Linked DNA regions of Homo sapiens: region 2 is linked to region 1. The links are contacts of gene promoters, found by promoter capture Hi-C in human tissues and cell types (Jung and others, 2019). All regions are on one chromosome and are shown on one strand. Each heading gives the region's core, a stretch centred on a gene start or on the middle of the fragment in contact. The rest is flanking DNA. Distances are from core to core; before and after follow the strand shown. Region 1 holds the start of BCAS4 (breast carcinoma amplified sequence 4). Region 2 holds the start of CEBPB (CCAAT enhancer binding protein beta).

What was found. Contacts are between HindIII fragments. The study calls those that stand out against the background at their distance.
Region 2: the fragment with the promoter of CEBPB here is called in contact with the fragment with the promoter of BCAS4 in region 1 in 1 of the 25 tissues and cell types used here (IMR-90 fibroblasts).

The regions. Positions count from the first base shown.
Region 1 is chr20:50,792,451-50,798,025 of GRCh38, forward strand. BCAS4 (breast carcinoma amplified sequence 4) reads left to right here and starts at 2,611. Exons shown (of 5, transcript NM_198799.4): 1 at 2,611-2,723. The coding sequence starts at 2,634. RefSeq lists a silencer at 2,344-3,163. The HindIII fragment of the contact is 12,365 bases long and covers 1-5,575 here.
Region 2 is chr20:50,187,422-50,193,062 of GRCh38, forward strand. CEBPB (CCAAT enhancer binding protein beta) reads left to right here and starts at 3,409. Exons shown (of 1, transcript NM_005194.4): 1 at 3,409-5,247. The coding sequence starts at 3,613. The coding sequence ends at 4,650. CEBPB-AS1 (CEBPB antisense RNA 1) reads right to left here and starts at 4,648. Exons shown (of 7, transcript NR_125739.1): 1 at 4,243-4,648; 2 at 3,847-4,001; 3 at 2,577-2,864; 4 at 2,035-2,140; 5 at 1,122-1,206. RefSeq lists silencers at 2,942-3,351, 3,311-3,605, 3,432-3,641, 3,782-4,221, 4,642-4,751. The HindIII fragment of the contact is 25,644 bases long and covers 1-5,641 here.

The DNA.
Region 1 (5,575 bases), core at 1,361-3,860:
GGGTGCAGTGCCTCACTCCTGTAATCCCAGCACTTTGGGAGGCCGAGACTGGTGGGTCACTTGAAACCAGGAATTGGAGACTGGCCTGGCCAACATGTTGAAACCCTGTCTCTACTAAAAATACAAAAATTAGCCAGGCTTGGTGGTGCTTGTTCCTGTAATCCCAGCTACTGGGGAGGCTGAGGTAGGAGAATCGCTTGAACCCGGGAGGCAGAGCTTGCAGTGAGCCGAGATTGTGCCACTGCACTCCAGCCTGGGCAACAAAGCAAGACTCTGTCAAAAAACAAAAAAAAGAAAGAAAGAAAGAAAAGAAAAAGAAATCCCTCCCTCCCATACCCCTCTCCAGTTTCTTCTCCCCCGCCCTAAAGTAACCACTTTTGGAACATGGGGTACGTCGTTCCCATGCACAGCTTTGTACTTTTGCTCCATCTGTCGGTGTCCATAAACAATATACAGTGTGGTTCTGCGTGTTTTAAAAACTGTGCTAATGGCACAGTGCCCTACAGAGCCTTCTGCAACACGACTTTTCTTCCTTAGCTTTATGTTTCTGAGATTTATCCACCAGGAGAAGTTTGCTGTGCTCAGGTCAATTTGGTGATCTGAGGCCAGTCCTGGGCTCTTTGTGGGAGATGCCTAGCCAGCAGGCAAGGGCAAGGGTCTGAGACCGGCTCCCAGGGGATGGCGAGGAGGGCTCAGAGCATCAGGGAAATCATGACAATGACGAATGGCCGAGTGTGGGCTCAGTGAGTTCCTATAAAACCCTTAAGCACTTGAGGCCCAAGTCTTTGCCAAGAATTTTCCAGAAAATGACTGGCCTGAAGGCCTGGATATTTGGATAGGGAGAAATTAGCAGTGGACAGATTTGGAAGTGGGAATTGTGCAGTGATGGACTACACAAAAGGCAGGTCAAACATGTGTTGTTTAGGCCCCTACCTAGGGTGGCCAACTACAATATAAATTCAGATTTAATGGAGAGGAAGGTGTGGGACGTCCTATATATTTATTTGCACCCTTGATACCAGCCCCTCCTTTTTAAAAAACAACAACAACAACAAAAGACAGAGTTTCACTGTGTCACACAGGCTGGAGTGCAGTGGTGCGATCATAACTCGCGGTAGCCTTGAACTCCTGGCCTCAAACAATCCTCCTGCATCTGCCTCTCCAGTAGCTAGGACTACAGTTGTGCCCCACCACATCCTGCAATTTTAATTTTTTTTTTTCTTTTAGAGAGATGGAGTCTCCTTATGTTTGCCCAAGCAGCTCAGCCTTTTTTTTTTTTTTTTTTTGTGAGGCGATTTAACATTTAAAGAAAAGTCAGCAGGCAGGGGGCGCTGGCCCACGCCTGTAATCCTAGCACTTTGGGAGGCCGAGGCAGGTGGCTCACCTGAGGTCAGGAGTTCGAGAGCAGCCTGGCCAACATGGCGAAACCCCGTCTCTACTAAAAAATACAAAAATTAGAATTAGTCGGGCGTGGTGACAGGCGCCTGTAATCCCAGCTACTCGGGAGGCTGAGGGAGGGGGAGAATTGCTTGAACCCGGAATGTGGAAGTTACAGTGAGCCGAAATCGCACCACTGCACTCCAGCCTGGGCGACAGAGCGAGACTCCGTCTCCAAAAAAAAAAAATTAATTAATTAAAAATAAAAATAAGTCATCAAACGAAAAATCAAAACTTCAGACTTGTCTTATACCTATTTGCCTTTTAGTACTTTCCTCATTAGCACTGTTGGGGTGGGAGATGAGGCGCACCTCGCTCTCTTCAGCCCCAAGGCTTGTAAAGGGTCTATCTAGGCCGGCCTCCGAGGGCATGGAGGGAGTGGGTGCGGTTGTGAAATGTAGTGCGCTCAATAGTTTCCTGGTGAAGTTTATTTTAAAATCCGCACCGAAGAGGAAGACGAGGACCGTCACACTCGGCCTTCCCTAAATTCCAGGACCCTCCGCCCGATGCAAACTAGATGCTTTAGTAGGATGGGAACGGGTGGGGGGCGGGCGGCTTTGGGCTTCCTCTAAGCTAGCGCCTCTCTAACCCGGACGCCCGTTAGAATCACCCGGGGAGTTTTAGAAACTACCGATGCCCAAGCCCCACTCCGAAGGATTCCAACTTAATCGGCCTGGTGCGAGGCCTGGCTTCCGGGCTTTTAAAAGCTTCCCGGGGATTCTATTTTACGGCCGGGTCCGGGGCCGGGAGCCTGTACTCTACCGGGATTCCGATGGGGAGGGGTGGCTTGCCCCAATAGTTCTCAAATTTAGCTTTGGGTCAACAATCTGGTTGGAACCACCTAACAAACATCAAAAGATCCTGATGCCCAGGTCTTAACCCAGAGACGGTGTGGTCCAGGCTTGGGAAATTCTAAAAGAGCTCCAGGTGACTGCCATCTGCAAGCGAGTTTGCAAAGCACTGATGCCCAGGTGCTGCGGGGGCGGGCGCAGCGCGCGCCGCTCGCCACTGGGTGGCGCTGCCCGCTCGGCCCGGCGCTCCTGGAGCTGCGAGCCGCGACCGCCGGGAGCGCACCTGCCCCGCCTCCGCCAGGCGGTCCGCGGGGCATGCAGCGGACCGGGGGCGGGGCTCCGAGGCCCGGGCGCAACCACGGGCTCCCAGGCAGCCTCCGCCAGCCGGACCCCGTCGCCCTCCTGATGCTGCTCGTGGACGCTGATCAGCCGGAGCCCATGCGCAGCGGGGCGCGCGAGCTCGCGCTCTTCCTGACCCCCGAGCCTGGGGCCGAGGTAGGGGACGGGGCTGTGGAGTTGGAGGAGAGGGTTCTCGCGGTTAGGGGTCCGGGCTCCGGACCCTCGGCTTCCCCGGAGCATCCTCTCGCTCCCGGAGTGGGGGGCCCGGGGATTCCCCCCTTCCTGAAGGGTGGCTGCGGGGCGCCACGCAGAGATGTGCAGCGGGTCGTCCCTGCTCGCTCCTCCGGGCGACACCGGGCCCCGGAGGCCCAGGCTCGCTTTCCCTCCCCACCCGGGTCCCCCAGCATCCGCCGGGTCCTCAGGCGCCGCCCTTTGCCAGGCCGGCCCTGGGAGAGGCGGACCCCGGGACCTCTGCTGCCCCGGCTACCTCCGAGCGGTGCCCGGGCCGAGCGGCGCCTCAGGCTGCGGCTGTGCGGGCCGCGCTGCGCTGCTGCAGCTCGGAGCGAAAACACCACGCCTCTGTCTGCGCTTTCTATTTTAAAAGCACCAAGTGAAAAGCAGATCTAAAACGAGACCCTCTACCTTCCGGCTGGAGGCATCTGTCGACGCTGTTGTGAAAAAGTTATTTGTCTGAGTTCACTAGGAGTTATTTACGGTCAGAAATTCAACCCATTCTCTTTTTAAACCACAAAAGCAGTACAGGAGTATTTAACATAAAGGCTATGCACCCCTTTCTCTTTTCTCTCCCACCCCAATTCTAGTTTTCTTAGAAAACCAGCATTAACTGTTTGGTATAAATCATTCCGGACATTTAAAATGCATTTACAAATGTAGATATCTGTATCTGCCTAGGCAGAGTATTGGCTCATGCCAGTGGTCCCAGCATTCTGGGAGGCTGAGGCAGGAGGATTGCTTGGGATGGGGATAGGGGACGGGGAAGAGTGAGGCTGCAGTGAGGCTTGATCATGCCACTGCACTCCAGCCTGGGCGACAGAGTGAGACATTTAAAAAAAAATCTATCTCGCCAGGCCTGGTGGCTCACGCTTGTAATCCCAGCACTACTGGGAGGCCGAGACGGGTGGATCACCTGAGGTCAGGAGCTCGAGACCAGCCTGACCAACATGGTGAAACCCCGTCTCTACTAAAAATACAAAAATTAGCCGGGTGTGTAATCCCAGCTACTTGGGAGGCTGAGGCAGGAGGATCGCTTGAACCTGGGAGGCGGAGGCTGCAGTGAGCTGAGATCAGCCATTGCATTCCAGCCTGGGCAACAAGAGCAAAACTCCCTCTCAAAAAAAAAAACCATAAAATATCTTTCCATATATATATATATACATATATATGAGTTTTCTCTTTTTTCTTTTTCTTTTTCTCCATATATATATATATATATATATATATATATATATATTTTTTTTTTTTTTTTTTTTTTTTTTGAGATGGAGTCTTGCTCTGTCACCAGGCTGGAGTGCATTGGCATGATCTCAGCTCACTGCAACCTCCGCCTCCCAGGTTCAAGGAATTCTCCTGCCTCAGCCTCCCGAGTAGCTGGGACTACAGGCGTGTGCCACCATGCTCAGCTAATTTTTGTATTTTTCAGTAGAGACGGGGTTTCACCATGTTGGCCAGGATGATCTCTATCTCTTGACCTCGTGATCCACCCTCCTCGGCCTCCCAAAGTGTTGGGATTACAGGCGTAAGCCACAGCGCCCAGCCATCTCCACATATTTTTAAAATAATTTTTGAACAGACGTTTTTAATTTTTTTTTTTTTGACAGGGTTTCACTTTGTCACCCAGGCTGGAGTGCAGTGACACAATCATAGCTCAATGTAGCCTCAACCTCCTGGGCTCAAGTGATCCTCCCACCTCAGCCTCCCGCATAGCCAGGACCACAGGTGCGCACCACCATGTCAGGTTAACTTTTAAAACAAAGTTATTTTGTGGAGACGAGATCTCACTATGTTGCCCAGGCGGGTCTTGAATTCCTGGGCCCAAGAGATCCTTTGGCCTCAGCCTCCCAAAGTGCTGGGATTATAGGCATGTACCACCATGCCTGGCCCATCTATATTAGTTTTAAATGAAACCTCACTTGCTGCTGTAATACTGTCCTGCAACTTGCTTTTCTTTACTCAAAATAGCATGGAAAAATGTGTGGGGACTACTAATGGGAAGGTATGGGGCTTCGTTTTGGTGTAATGAACATGTTCTGGATGTTAGATAGTTGTGTTGGTTGCACAAATTTGTGAATATACTGAAAACTGCTGAATCGTACACTTTGAAAGGGTGAATTTTGTGGTTTGTGAATTATATCTCAATTTAAAAAAATAGCATGGAGGCAGGGTACAGTGGCTTATGCCTGTAATTCCAGCGACTTAGGAAGCTGAGGTGGGAGGATCACTTGAGACCAGGAGTTCAAGACCAGTCTGGGCAACGCAGGGAAACCCCTGTCTCTACAAAAAAATGTTAAAATATAAAAAATTAAAAATAACACGAACAAAAATTTAAAAATTAAAAATAACATGAGCATGTATCCATAAACACTGTCCAATAGAAATATAATTGGAGCTACAAATGTGAGCTACCTATGCAATTTTTTTTGTTTTTGAGACAGAGTTTCACTCTTGTTGCCCAGGCTGGAGTGCAATGGTGTGATCTCGGCTCACCGCAACCTCCACCTCCTGGGTTCAAACGATTCTCCTGCCTCAGCCTCCCGAGTAGCTGGGATTACAGGCATGCGCCACCACGCCCAGCGAATTTTGTATTTTTAGTAGAGACAGGGTTCCTCCATGTTGGTCAGGCTGGTCTCGAACTCCTAGCCTCAGGTGATCTGCCCGCCTCGGCCTCCCAAAGTGCTGGGATTACAGGTGTGAGCCACTGTGCGTGGCCACCTACGCAATTTTTAGTGTTCTAGGAGCCACATGAAAAAGAAACAGGTGGCCAGGCACCA
Region 2 (5,641 bases), core at 2,159-4,658, 600 kb before region 1:
ACTGGCTGCCAGTTTGAGATCCTTTCCGGCTCTAGGTTCTGAGGGCAGGTGACTGGGAGAGGTGGCGCCAGGGGGATCCTGGTTTCCTGTGCCCACACAGCCACTCACGTACTCTGGGCCTCTGGGCCGTGGTGGTTCAAGCTCCCACCATCCCCACTTCTTGGGGAAAGGCTGAACAGTACTGGGGTGGGGGTGGGGGAGCAGCAGGCGGGGCCTGTTGAGCAAGAGCCTTGTAAAAACAAGGGCTTACGTCATCCTAGCTTGCAGCTTCCCTGCAGGACACCTGGGTCGGCACCGGGGTGGGACCTGCGCTGAGAAGGGATGGGTCATCCCCAGCAGGGGGTGGAGGGTGGGGAAGGGTGGCAAGCATGTTCCACCCCAGAGGCCAGAGGGCCTAGACCCCTGCTGGGGCTGAGTCTGGTCTTTGGGGGCTGGCCTGCAAGGTCCGAGTAACACCTTAACGCACTGTGTGACCCCAGGTCTACCCTTCTCTGTGCCTCAGTTCTTCTATCCAGAAGATGGGACTCACATTGCCAGGCCTGTTATGACAAACCCAAGAGGGAAAGTCAGACTGGAAAGATTTTATTCCTTCTCATCCTTTCATGTGACCTGGAGCAGACACACTTAGCTCTTCTGGGCCTCAGTTTCCTCATCTATAAAGTGGAGATAATGATAAGACTGTGGCCTGGCGCAGCGGCTCACACCTGTAATCTCAGCACTTTGGGAGGCTGAGGCAAGAGGGCCACTTGAGGCCAGGCGTTCGAGAAAAGCCTGAGCAACAGAGTGAGACATATCCATCTCTACAAAACATTGAAAAATATGAAAAAAGAAGAAGAAAAAAGACCTGCCTCCTACAAATTATCAGTAGGATTAAATGAGTTAATACATGCAAAGAGCTTGGAATGTGGTTCAGAGAAGGTGGAAGTTTGGCCTAAGAACACACAGCAAATCCTCCAATTAGCTTCAGTTCCCCCATATCTCCCTGCATCTCTTCAGAATCCAGAAAGGGAACGTGGGCGAGTGCTTTGGTTCAGAGAGGGGAGCCATTTTGCCTAAGGTCACACAGCCCAGCTAACGAGGAACCTCTCCTTCTTCTCAGCCTCCTCCATTTATTCACTCACCATTCATCGAGCACCTTCTATGTACCAGGCTCTGTTCTAGGCACCAGGGACACAGTAGTGAAGGCCGTGGGGACAGACAGCAAGACTGGCAGGCAAGATAATTCTGATTATAATGAGAATGGTGACGGAAATGAAGCAGGGGTGTGAGAGGAGTGACTGAGGGCCTAGACTTCCCATGGGAAGGTCAGGGAGGGTTTCCCGGAGGAGGCAGCTTTTGGGCTGAGACCTGAGGAGCTGCCTTGGGCAGAGGTGGGGTGACAGTGTTCTTGGTGCACAGGGAACAGCAAATGCATTCCTTCACTGGTAAATGTTGAGCGTGCTGTGCTCAGGAGTCCCTCGTGGGCCAGCCCTCCCCAAGTGGCAGCCTGCAGGGAGACTGAGGTAGACAGCTAGGATAATGGTGGCTGGCGATAGGGAAGGAAATTCACTAGCAGGTGGGACAGGGAGGGCCTCTCAGAAGCCGTGGCCTCTAGCTCAGCCCTGAGTGTCCCATTTTGCAGTGAGGAAGGGCTGGCCGGGTGGCCCTAGGGAAGCTGCCGCACCCCTCTGGGCCTTGATCCCTCCCCAACCCAGAGGCTGCTGGGAAGACCCAGAAAGCCAGCAGGCTGGGCCAGTGTTTTATCCCCTCCCTCCCTGCCTCCTACCCACCAAGGGTGCCCAGAGATGTCATTTCTCCAGCTCTTGGGGGCGGAGGTCACCCCAGCTCAGCAGATAACACCAAAGGTTGAGCAATGCCCGCCTGCCCGCTGGGGCCAGGGCTGGGGTCAGTGGGCTGGGGATCAGCCCCGGGCAGGCTGGGAGCTCCTGCCTAGGTGGCCTGGGCTAGGAGTGGCAGAGAGGTGGGCCCAGGGAGCTGCCCCAATGGCCTAGGAATGGGTCCGGGAGGGCAAAGGGCCCTCTAACCTGAGCCTACCCAGCAGAGGCGGGCAAGTGGTCAGAAGGCCTTGGGCCTGTGTTCAAGTCCAGGCGGGCCGTTGTCGCTTTCCCGTCTGTGAAATGGCAGCAGCAAAAGCATCTTCCTGGTGGGGTGAAAAAAGTTGAACCTCGGGGTGCAGGCCCACCGTAAGCACAGGGCAGGGACTTGGTAAAAACTTATCTTTCTCTTTCCTTCTCTTTCCTGCATACCACCCCCTCCCGTGAGGCCTCGCTTAAGTCCCTCCCTAGCAACTTCAGAAACAGAAGTTTTTGGCCTCTGGGACTGGCAATAGGTCTTAGGGCTCAGATGAGGGCATTTCATTTGGGATGAATGGGGGACATGCGGCCATGTGACCTTGGTATGCCACGCCATGCTCTCTCTGGGCCTCCACTGGCACAATCCGTGGGGGTCCCGTTCTCTCTGATGTGCAGCCCACAACGTAAGCCTTAGGTTTGGGAGTCTGGTGGGAACAATGCCACCACCACTGACAGTAGCGACACCCTTCATGGATTGCAGCTGGGAGAAGTGAAGTGACTCACCCAAGGTCACACAGTGTGGCAGGGCCGAGCACCCCCCGCCCCTGCCCCATCCCAGGGCCCAGGTCGGGTGGCGCAGCGCGGGGCAAGAGAAGACCCGGGCGTGTCCAAGCCTCGAGCAGGCGGCAGGTGTGGTGGGCGGGGCTAGGGGCGGGGCTCCGTGGACCAGGGTCCAGCCCCAAGCGGGGCGCGATCCTGCCCGGTCGCGCCGACCCCCGGGGTCCTCATATTGTCTGTGGCTTAAGAGGGGAGTCGTCACAGGCGTCAAGTCTTCTTTCTAAAGCCGGGGACCTGGGGAGGAGGTGGGAGTTTACGGGAGGAAGGGCCACGGAGATGGGTCGCTTCTCCTGGAGCTAGAGCTGCGGGCTGGGGTCTCCAGGGTTCGGCCCGGGGAGCCGACCCTGGTCGGCCGTCGGGGCTCTGCTCGGCCCTCCTGAAACCTCCGCCTCCTCCAGCAGGGGGCGGGCCGGGGCCGCGTCTCGGGGGGAAGGCGATCAGGTCGCCCCCTCCTCCGATTCCCCCGCCTTCCAGGACAGCCTCCAGCCCAGAGGGGCGGTCCGGGGGCGGGGTCGCACCGCCCCCTCTCGCTCCCAATCCCGGGGCGGCCGGGCGGGGGTGGGCAGGGGGCGTGAGGCCGCCCCTGCGTCCCGGGGGCCCCCCGAAAACGCGCTCCGGGTGCCCGGTCCCTCCGCTGCGCCCTGCCGCCGTCCTCCCGGGGGTCTCGGGCGGCCGCGGCCGTGTCCTTCGCGTCCCGGCGGCGCGGCGGGAGGGGCCGGCGTGACGCAGCGGTTGCTACGGGCCGCCCTTATAAATAACCGGGCTCAGGAGAAACTTTAGCGAGTCAGAGCCGCGCACGGGACTGGGAAGGGGACCCACCCGAGGGTCCAGCCACCAGCCCCCTCACTAATAGCGGCCACCCCGGCAGCGGCGGCAGCAGCAGCAGCGACGCAGCGGCGACAGCTCAGAGCAGGGAGGCCGCGCCACCTGCGGGCCGGCCGGAGCGGGCAGCCCCAGGCCCCCTCCCCGGGCACCCGCGTTCATGCAACGCCTGGTGGCCTGGGACCCAGCATGTCTCCCCCTGCCGCCGCCGCCGCCTGCCTTTAAATCCATGGAAGTGGCCAACTTCTACTACGAGGCGGACTGCTTGGCTGCTGCGTACGGCGGCAAGGCGGCCCCCGCGGCGCCCCCCGCGGCCAGACCCGGGCCGCGCCCCCCCGCCGGCGAGCTGGGCAGCATCGGCGACCACGAGCGCGCCATCGACTTCAGCCCGTACCTGGAGCCGCTGGGCGCGCCGCAGGCCCCGGCGCCCGCCACGGCCACGGACACCTTCGAGGCGGCTCCGCCCGCGCCCGCCCCCGCGCCCGCCTCCTCCGGGCAGCACCACGACTTCCTCTCCGACCTCTTCTCCGACGACTACGGGGGCAAGAACTGCAAGAAGCCGGCCGAGTACGGCTACGTGAGCCTGGGGCGCCTGGGGGCCGCCAAGGGCGCGCTGCACCCCGGCTGCTTCGCGCCCCTGCACCCACCGCCCCCGCCGCCGCCGCCGCCCGCCGAGCTCAAGGCGGAGCCGGGCTTCGAGCCCGCGGACTGCAAGCGGAAGGAGGAGGCCGGGGCGCCGGGCGGCGGCGCAGGCATGGCGGCGGGCTTCCCGTACGCGCTGCGCGCTTACCTCGGCTACCAGGCGGTGCCGAGCGGCAGCAGCGGGAGCCTCTCCACGTCCTCCTCGTCCAGCCCGCCCGGCACGCCGAGCCCCGCTGACGCCAAGGCGCCCCCGACCGCCTGCTACGCGGGGGCCGCGCCGGCGCCCTCGCAGGTCAAGAGCAAGGCCAAGAAGACCGTGGACAAGCACAGCGACGAGTACAAGATCCGGCGCGAGCGCAACAACATCGCCGTGCGCAAGAGCCGCGACAAGGCCAAGATGCGCAACCTGGAGACGCAGCACAAGGTCCTGGAGCTCACGGCCGAGAACGAGCGGCTGCAGAAGAAGGTGGAGCAGCTGTCGCGCGAGCTCAGCACCCTGCGGAACTTGTTCAAGCAGCTGCCCGAGCCCCTGCTCGCCTCCTCCGGCCACTGCTAGCGCGGCCCCCGCGCGCGTCCCCCTGCCGGCCGGGGCTGAGACTCCGGGGAGCGCCCGCGCCCGCGCCCTCGCCCCCGCCCCCGGCGGCGCCGGCAAAACTTTGGCACTGGGGCACTTGGCAGCGCGGGGAGCCCGTCGGTAATTTTAATATTTTATTATATATATATATCTATATTTTTGTCCAAACCAACCGCACATGCAGATGGGGCTCCCGCCCGTGGTGTTATTTAAAGAAGAAACGTCTATGTGTACAGATGAATGATAAACTCTCTGCTTCTCCCTCTGCCCCTCTCCAGGCGCCGGCGGGCGGGCCGGTTTCGAAGTTGATGCAATCGGTTTAAACATGGCTGAACGCGTGTGTACACGGGACTGACGCAACCCACGTGTAACTGTCAGCCGGGCCCTGAGTAATCGCTTAAAGATGTTCCTACGGGCTTGTTGCTGTTGATGTTTTGTTTTGTTTTGTTTTTTGGTCTTTTTTTGTATTATAAAAAATAATCTATTTCTATGAGAAAAGAGGCGTCTGTATATTTTGGGAATCTTTTCCGTTTCAAGCATTAAGAACACTTTTAATAAACTTTTTTTTGAGAATGGTTACAAAGCCTTTTGGGGGCAGTAATTGGCTTTTGTTTTTTATTTTTTTACTTTATTTTGGATTTGTAGGATTTTGTTTTTGCGTTTCTGGTGTGTAGGGGGTTGTGTGTGGGGGGCTGCTGTTATTTTTGGAGGTTTTGGTGGTTGGGTGGGGGTGTTGCAGCTGGTTTTTCTGCCTCCTCTGCTACTCCCCCTCCCACACACACAGGGTCTGCTTGAGATGGGGTTCCAGCCCCGGGGGAAAGGGGAGAAGAGTAATGGGTCAGGCATTCAGGCTGACTCAGAGCCCCTAGGCGCCGGGACGGGTGGCTGGGAACCCTGCTTGAGAAGAGATTCCGGAGCCTCTGGCTGGTCCCGAGTGTCAGGCTTGGGTTTGGAAGGGCTGGGAGGTCTGTGA